Regions from separate parts of the Homo sapiens genome. Here region 1 is linked to region 2. Evidence: promoter capture Hi-C in 16 types of primary human blood cells and fetal thymus (Javierre and others, 2016). All regions are on one chromosome and are shown on one strand. The core of a region is centred on a gene start or on the middle of the fragment in contact, and the rest is flanking DNA. Distances in the headings are between cores, read along the strand shown.

Evidence for each region. The method cuts DNA at HindIII sites, captures the fragments that hold promoters and counts their contacts. A CHiCAGO score of 5 or more calls a contact.
Region 1: a fragment that was not itself captured here is called in contact with the fragment with the promoter of RIPPLY1 in region 2 in 1 of 17 cell types (erythroblasts); the score reaches 5.0 in erythroblasts.

Annotation. Positions count from the first base shown.
Region 1 is chrX:107,320,377-107,324,737 of GRCh38, forward strand. No RefSeq gene overlaps it. Among named protein-coding and RNA genes, the nearest start is that of DNAAF6, 120 kb to the left of the region's middle. The HindIII fragment of the contact is 243 bases long and covers 2,232-2,474 here.
Region 2 is chrX:106,902,047-106,906,108 of GRCh38, forward strand. RIPPLY1 (ripply transcriptional repressor 1) reads right to left here and starts at 1,295. Exons shown (of 4, transcript NM_138382.3): 1 at 1,087-1,295; 2 at 94-169. The coding sequence starts at 1,241. It also overlaps a transcript of CLDN2 not described here. The HindIII fragment of the contact is 2,011 bases long and covers 250-2,260 here.

The DNA.
Region 1 (4,361 bases), core at 1,103-3,602, 420 kb after region 2:
CAGTGAAGACTCTATTACAGTTCAGGGGTTTTCTGGGAGATGAGCTGCCTTAAGCCTCTCATTCATCAGTAACTTTCCAGAGTGAGGAGACTGGGCAGCTGGGGTGGGGTCCTGAGAACTGTGTGACTCCAAAAGGAGGGGTTGAGAAATGAAGTCACTGGGGGTACTGAGCCTCACAAAGTTGCCTCAGATAAGACCAATCTGTAGTGTAGGTAGCAGGGTAGTGGAGGGGGACCCGAACCAAGACTGAAACTCAGGCTGGCTCACTGCCCAGGCCTATAGGGATCAGGAGTGGGAGAGAGAAAGGCAGTGTAAGTCAGGAGAAGCCTCTTTAGCCTCAAAGCCGAGAAGACCCCAACTTTTGGGAGGAAGAGTTGATCCAGACTGGTAGAAAGAATATATGCTTCCCTTTCCTGGGCTCTCCAGTATTGTGAGGGGAGGTCTAAGGAGGTGTGTGAGTGTATGACAAGATGGAGAAGGACGCTTATACTCACAAGCAGCAGGCTGGGCACTACTTTGGACAAGCCGACAGAACACAATAATTGATTGCCTTCTAGCTACAAAATCAAAATGGCTTTTGATGTTCAGCCATTCATTGCTGTAACTGGAATAATAACACAATTCATTTTAGCTGCAGCCCCGCAAATGGATGGCTTTAATAATGGTTAATTTGGGATGATGAATGTGCCATTTGGGGGTGACATTACTGCTGAATAAGAAGAGCACACAAGAGACAGAGGGAGGAAAGGAGGAGCTACATAAGACTAGCCATGTTTGCTAACTTCTGAGGCTGCCAGGCCTTCAATTCCACTCCACAAGTATTGATTTAGCAAGTACTTACTTCCTAGCTAGCACTGGGCTGAGGGTTGGAGAGACTCTCAAGAAATATATGATTAGGATAGCCATGTGTCCTGGCTTCCCAGGGACAGTCCTGGTTTGTGATGAGACCTGGGGCAATTATTATTAATAGCACCTCTTCTCACTCTCAAAAGTGTCTTGGTTTGAATGGTAAGTTATATTGTCATTCTGCATGGCTCACGCTCTGCTTTCCATGAGAACACAGCTTTTCTGGGGGAAGACAAGTCTTATTTATGCACATAGAGCCATTATAGCATATTAGGAGACAGTATGTAACCAAAAAATGAACCAAAAAAGCTCAAGCACCCAAATCAATGCTCATAATTTAAAAATTGGTGATGGTCATGGATTTAAATATCTTGAAGATAACATTCACATGCATGTAAATGAATCACCACAATATACTACTCACTTGATCTTTACGATAACCTCATCTTATAAATGAGCCACTAGACACCAAGAGAAAGGAGTCAATTGCTCAAGGTCACAGAGCTAGTAAGTGACAGAGTCCATATTTGAATCCAGAACCATTTTAACTTAAAAGCCACCTATATTTCGCCTTTGGAACAGATATTAGTGCTGCCTGGAGTGATCAAAAAAGCTCATGGAGGAAGTGAACTACTTCCAAAGAATGAATCCACAAGTAAAAGTGAATAGAGTTTAAAAAAATGAAAGATGTAAGCTAGGAAAGAGACAGTGAAGAAATTAAGTGTGGTGGGGTTAATCAAGGACAATTTGCGAAGGAGGTGAGTTTTTGCACTACATTTAAAATTACTGATGAATATGATGAATATGGATTTACATAGATGAAAGAAGGGCTTTCACATGTGTAGAGATGACAAACTCTGAAGTCAGGGTGCTATTTACTGGGAATGGGCAAGTGGATGGGAATGAAGTAAACAGAAGATGACAATCACATTAGTAGGGTTTTATTTCTTAAACACAGTGGTAAATAGGTGCTCATCATACGAGTCTGTATACTTTGCTTGTATATCTTATTATTTCATGATAAAATATTTTTAAATGACAGAGATTGATCTTTCCAGGTGGGGGAAATGTATTAAGTAGGACATAGAAGCAAGGACAATAGATGTCTATTCTGGAGTCATTTTAACCAGAACCCTTATGTCTGGATTGAGCATTCATAGTCTCCCTTGTGGAGTGACCCACTGCCATTTCTTCCTCCCCAAGCACAGCACATGTTGAAAGCCTTGCTCAGCCCTCACTCTTGTTCGACTCAAAACTCTGCACCTCTGGAAATGCCCATTTACTGCCTTCTAAAAGATGTGCTTAGATGGCCTGTCTGTCTTCCTTGCTGTCAGGCGTGGTGTATCGGCGTGTTTACTACTTGTGGGATTTAGTGTTTAAACAAAAGCTTTGTACCCTCCCAAGAGATTGGCCTCCTGATTGGCAGGTGGGGTCAGAAGTACCCTCTTAGCCCTTCTCCAGTATAGTGAGAAGTGTTTGGAGCCAGACCTTAGTTGGAATCCAAGTCTGGCTCTCATAAGCTGTGTGACATTAGGCAGGTCACTTAAGCTCTCTGAGCCTATTTCCTCCTCTTCTGATGGTCGTTTCAAGAAGGAAATGAGATAATGTAGGGGAATCGCCTAGCAAAAAGCTTAGTAGAGCTTGATAAATGTGAGTTCTCTTCCCTCCTCCCTTTGTTGAAATGGCTGAACCTAAACATCAACCAATGATTAGTTTCAAAAATATTTTTGAAGAATAAATGTTGTATGTAATTTGGTAGCTTTTTTGCCAAACCTTCACTCAAGAAAAATCAAGTCATTCTGAATTCTTAAGCTGGCACCAGATGAATTCCCAGTCTCTGTTCAGACTGCTCCCTGGACTGCGACTGTCAGTGTCCAAGGCCTCTAGGACCTAGTCATAAAAACATGAGAACATAGACACCTTTTTATTCCCTTTGCCAAGAAGCATCAGCCAGCATCACCTGAGAACTTGCTGAAAATATACATTCTCAGCCACCATCAGCCCAGACCTGTGATCAGAAACTCTGGGAATGGGCCCGGTAATCTGCGTGTTACCCAGGGTGATTGTGATGCTTGCTCAAGTTTGAGAACCATCACTGCTCTAGGGCTCAGGGCTCCTCTTGGGCCATGTGCCCCAGGGTTCCCTCCACCACCCTCTCCCCACCCGAGAAGAGGGAGGCATGACAGTAGCAGCTAGAGAACTCTAGAAGAGGTTGAACTTTTGCCAGGAGGCCTGGAGGTGGCCCGTGCTCTTTGACAACTGTAGGAACCTCAGGAGCAGGTTGTGGAGCTCCGCCCAGAGCCCTGCCTATCAGAACTAGAACCTCCTCCAGGTCATGTGGCACAGTCCCTGCCTCTGCACAAGGCCTCGCAGGACCAGAGACCCCTGACCTTCACGCCTACTCTGCACAACCCCTAAAGCACTGGTTCTCCAAGTGTGGTCCCAGACCAACATCAGCCCCACCTGGAAAGATGTTGATGACAGCGGTGTGCTGTCCAGAGCGGCTGCTGCCATTACGCCACGGCTGTGGAGAGGGTGTGGGGAAGACGCAGGCAACCCGCCCCCGCCCACCCTCCCTACCTCCCCCGCAGCCTGCCGCCCTGGGGGCTGCCTCAGTGGAGCTGGGCCAGGTCACCCGTCAGCGACGGAGCTATGTGGTCTAGCAGAGAGGGGCCCCGAGGCGGAGCTGGGCCCAGGGTGGTGCTGCGCTTGCACATGGAGCACGAGAGGCAGGAGGGGTGCAGAGCTGGGACCGTACTTCGGGGCCCGGGGCTGGAAGTAGGAGCAGTGCCCGCTTTGGGGACCCAGCCAGTGGTGCAGCCACTGTGCCCACCTTGCCGAGGGTGCCAGGTTCCTGTGCCCTGGGAGGAGGCTCTGGGCGAGGCCACCTGGGACTGCCTCCCCAGGGTCCGCCCAGCATCCGAGTGACTGTCGAGCCTGACAGTCCCGACAGCCAGGGCCGAGGCCCAGGGCCTGTGGCCGCGATCTGCTCCCGGAGGCGCCCCGCCCCCCGCCACGCCCAGATAAAGCCACGAGCCAGGTGAGGGGGACCCCTGGGGCACACCTGAGCAACAGGGCTGTGGGGAAAGCTCGCGGCAACGTCGCCCCTGCCCTGGATGACACCCCGGGCCCAGCGAGGACCTGAAGCCCCTGCCTCAGGCTGCGAGGGGGCACAGCCGGTGTTGCACACTCCAAGGACCCGGCAGGAGCTAGGAGCAGGCAGCAGCCCCACCCAACCCCTCTGGGTGCAGCAGCAGGCGCCCAAGTCAGGGCTGTGGACCCAGACCTCTCTGCCCTCTTGAGGGCCTGGGAAGGCTGCCCCTCCACCCTTGCAGGCTTGGAAGTGCCTGCTCCTGCTGCCTGGCTTTTCCCCGCTGTTGGCACCCACTCCAATCTCCGAGCAATGTGGGGGCCAAGCCTTGGTGTTCTCGCAGCCTGGCCAGGGGTGCATGTACTGGGGCCAGCGCTGACATGCCAGCGCCCTGCTGCCTCAGACTTCTCCAGAATTTGGGTGC
Region 2 (4,062 bases), core at 45-2,544:
TGGACTGAGGTCAGGGGCTCTCTGGGAAGTGACCTGGTCACTGTTAATGCATGTGGCTGCATGTGAACACACGTCACAAGGGCTCGAACTCACCAAATCCACCAGCTTCCTCATCTGCCTTGGGGAGTCATTTGTGGAAGACAGCCAGGGCCTCCAGAGACAAGTTCCTCTGGGACAAAGAGGAGAGATCAATCCGTAGAGGAAGAGACTGAAAGGTGGGCTCCCTGAGATAACAAGAGACCTCCCAAAAGCTTGGCTCAGGTGCCATCTGCTCCAGGAAGCCTTTCCTAAGGCTCCTGAGCCCATTCCAGGACAGATGTCCCTCCTCTCGGCTTCAGCAATGTTATTATTGCTTTTATCATGCTGTTTTGTAATTGTCTATTTACTTGTCTTTGGGCTTCTTAAGCTCAAAGATATGCTCAATCGTATCTGAATCCTCAACACCTAGTACAATGTCTGGTACACAGTAGCTGTTTCAGTAAATGTTTGTTGAAGACTAAATGTTTGGAGTAATGAGTGGGGGCTAGATGGAAAATATCTTGCCTCCTACTTCCTGCTCCAAGATGTAGAACTCAGAGCTCTACCATCTTCCTGGGCTGAAGAAGAGGGCCAGAAATGTTCCTGGGTCCACTGCTTCCCCACTGGACTTGCAGAGGTAGGAAAAAAGCAAATGGAAATCTTATGGCGTGGTCAGGAAAAAGACAATGTCCCAGTCAAGGGCCTCTTTAGACTTTGGTCCTCTTTCCCCAAACTCCCCACCCCCACAGTCTAGATTGTGTTAAGCCCAGGTTTCATGGCAGTTCCCCATCCCCCTCAGGGGACTCAGCCACCTGGCCTATGAGGACCTGGCTGCTTCACCTTCAGCTTTGGCAACAGCTGTCCCCAAGTCCCCTCTTGCCACCCAGCGGGATTAGTGAGGTGAAAAGTCAGATGAGATATTCCAGCTAGAGTTGAGGAGGGAGGGCTATGAGGCCATTGCTTTTCCCCTTCACAGAGAACAGGGTGCCCTGGACATCTCATTTTCCTTCCTCTCTCAGGAAGCTCTCAAGCCTAAGTTCAGGTTGCCAAAGGCTAAGCTCAACTTACCTTTCACTCCCATTTACTTCTTGTCCAGAGGAGAGAAGGCAAGATGGGCTTAACAGGCCAGGGAGTGCCAGTGGGGCTTGTGCTAGGTCTGGAGCTAGGGCCAAAGCCAGGGCTGGAACAGGGGTGGCAGCAGCAGCACAGGCAGCAGAGTCCATTCTTAGGGGACCAAAGCCAGTGGGGTCTCCTACTTCCCAGAACCTTCTGCACTCTTTTGGCTTTTCCTGGGAGACCCTTTTATAAGCCCTGCCTGGTCTTATAAATTATTCAGGGAGGACAGGGGTGGGATGACTTGGGAGGGGGATAAAGATTTAGGGAAGGGGCTCAGGGAGGGAAAGCTGGGTTACCTGGGTGTGAAATCTCTCCCAGTTGAATAAACATGGTGTCAGTGGGAGGTGAGGGATTTGCTTTGCCTCCAAGTCAGAAAGAAAAACACAGAAGGGGCAAATCGCACACCATTTGTGTGAATTCCCCAGGGAGTAGCAAGGCCTGAGAGGGGAAGGAGAGGAGCTCATTAGCACTCTGAAACCACAGAGATGTCAGGGACAGAGGGCTGAATAGACAGGCCTTTAACTAAGCCAGTTCCTGGCAAGAAGAGACAGCTGACCCCTTTAAGGAGAGTGAGGGACTCACTTGTTATTTCAGCTCAACCTCAGATAGATTTGCCAGGTGGACCTGAATGTAGGGTGACTGCCATTAAGCATATCATCTGGGTTAGGGAAAAAAGGGGCATTCTGGGCAGAGCAGGCCCAGATGCTTGTTGGGTAAACCTTAAGTCTTCTTTCAATGCCCCTCAGCCCCTTACTGATCAGTTCATTTGTCAAAGTGCCCCCTCCAGCCTCAGCAGTAAGTGGTCCAGTGAAGGAGAGCAGGCAGGATTTCACAGGGCCTCTGGGTGAGATTCCAAACCTCAGAGCTTAGCTTCCAGTTCAGAAGCCAGGGTGCTGGGGAGAGGCAAAGTTCTGCCCGACTACAGAGCTGCCGAAGGACCAGCCCCAGCCCCAGGCCTCAGTTCCCTCATGTAAGAGATGAGGGTGCTGGCCCAGTGGTCTCATAGGACCATGCCAGCCTGAACACTCTCTGACAGGGGCTACATAAATGGGTACTGAACCCGGGCAAGCCCAGAGGCCTGAGCACAGTCCTCGGCCTTAGCCAGCCTTCTGGGCCTTTGCCAGAAAGCTTCTAGTTACAACTACTGGCAGGGACCTTATGCTTCAGAGGTCTCGAAAATATTCCTCCTGACCTCAGTGTCCAGCCCCAGCACAGATTTAGCTTCTTGGATGTTCATCACAGTCTGGTTTGTAATGGTCAAAAATTAGAAACAACTTCAATGTCCAATAATAGGAAACCAGTTACATTAATTAGGGCAAATCCTTGCAACTGAATGCCAAGCAGGTGCTCACAATCATGTTCTGGGAAGTATAATTTTTCAACACAGAAAATGGAAAAAAAAATCAGATGGTAAGATAGCATGACTAATTTAAGGGCTCCTCATTTCTCTGTTCACCTACCCCCCATCTTCACCCCACTTCCAATTCTAGTCCCACTATGTTCTTTTCAGCAAAGGAAAATTGAAAACAACTTTTAAAAGCTGGTTAGATAAATCATTGGGCAGTTACACAATTTCATATTAAAATTGGCATGGTAGAAGAATGAGGGAAAAGTTAACATATTGAAAGAGTGAAAACAAAATAAGTCTCTAAAATATTACTTAAAGGATGATCCCATTTTGGTAAGAAAAAAGATGTAGAATGGACAGCGTGCAGAGAAAAAATAAGACTGGTGAGAAGAAAGAGTGTTAGGGTTGTCATTTCTGGGAGTAACAGTGGGGTGGATTTTTACTTTATGTTTTTCTGAATTTTCTAAAAAGTTCCACAATGAACTGATATTATTTGAGTAATAAAAAGGAAAGGCACAAAAAATAAAAATAAACCAACAAAGAAATGTTTATCCATGGAGGAACGAAAGCTGGGGGAAATGACAGATATTTTCAAATATCTGAGGATTAGACTGCAATGAGATTACACTTGTTCTGGGTGACTTCAAAGGGCAGGGCTGAGGCCCATGGCTGGAAGCTACATGGAGACACATTTTGGCTCAATCAAAGGAAAACTTTCTAACAGCTCAGTCACCACCTAACCCAAGGGCCTGGCACGGTCCCGGCCCTCAATAAACAGAGGTTTATTATATGAGGTGAAATGAGTTCAGTGAAATGTGCTGCCTTGGACTTGAGAGAGCTCTCTGTCCCTGAATTTTCTAAGTGCAAGATAGATCCCAGGTCCTGAAGAGGGAAATCTTGTGGGGAAAGAGAGGGTTGCTGGGGAGCCAGAGCATCTATCAGTCTCTGAGAGTTCTTGCTAAATTTACCTTCATGAGCTAAGCGTTTCCTTGTACTGACTGCATCACTGGCTGAAAGGAGGAGTGTGGCTCAGAGAGGGAGCCAGGCTGAAAAGACTGGGCTGGAAGGAGATGGTGTGCAAAGGAGGAAGAAGCACAACACCTGTTGTCACACTCAAGGATCTTTTCCACCTGTAAGTGGCCTCCGAGAATCAGCAGAAGGAAGGAGGGAGAGGGCTAAGAGGCAGATATTCCTCCTGAGCTCGGGGCTCATGCCTGACCAGACTCAACCATGCCACCCATCATGCCACCTCCCACCTTGAACTTGTGTTCCTTCAGTCACCACCTTCACGTTAGGAGCTGTCCAGTCCCTTCACTCCCCTGAGCAGCAGGCCTCAGGGTTCCACTTACACCCAGCTCCCAGCATGCTCTCCTGGAGCCCAGGGAGCCTTCAGACCTGTTTCCATGGGTCTTTGTCCTCCCTACGCAATGGCTCTGTCTTGCTACCTCCTAGGAATTGCCTCAGCCTCATTTAGCTTGTGGGACATGAAGCCGCTGGCTCTTCTTGTTGGCTTTTCCCCGGCCTGTAAGATTTAAGGCCTGCAAGTGTTGCTAGGCAAAAGTTGGCTGTTCTCCTTTTCA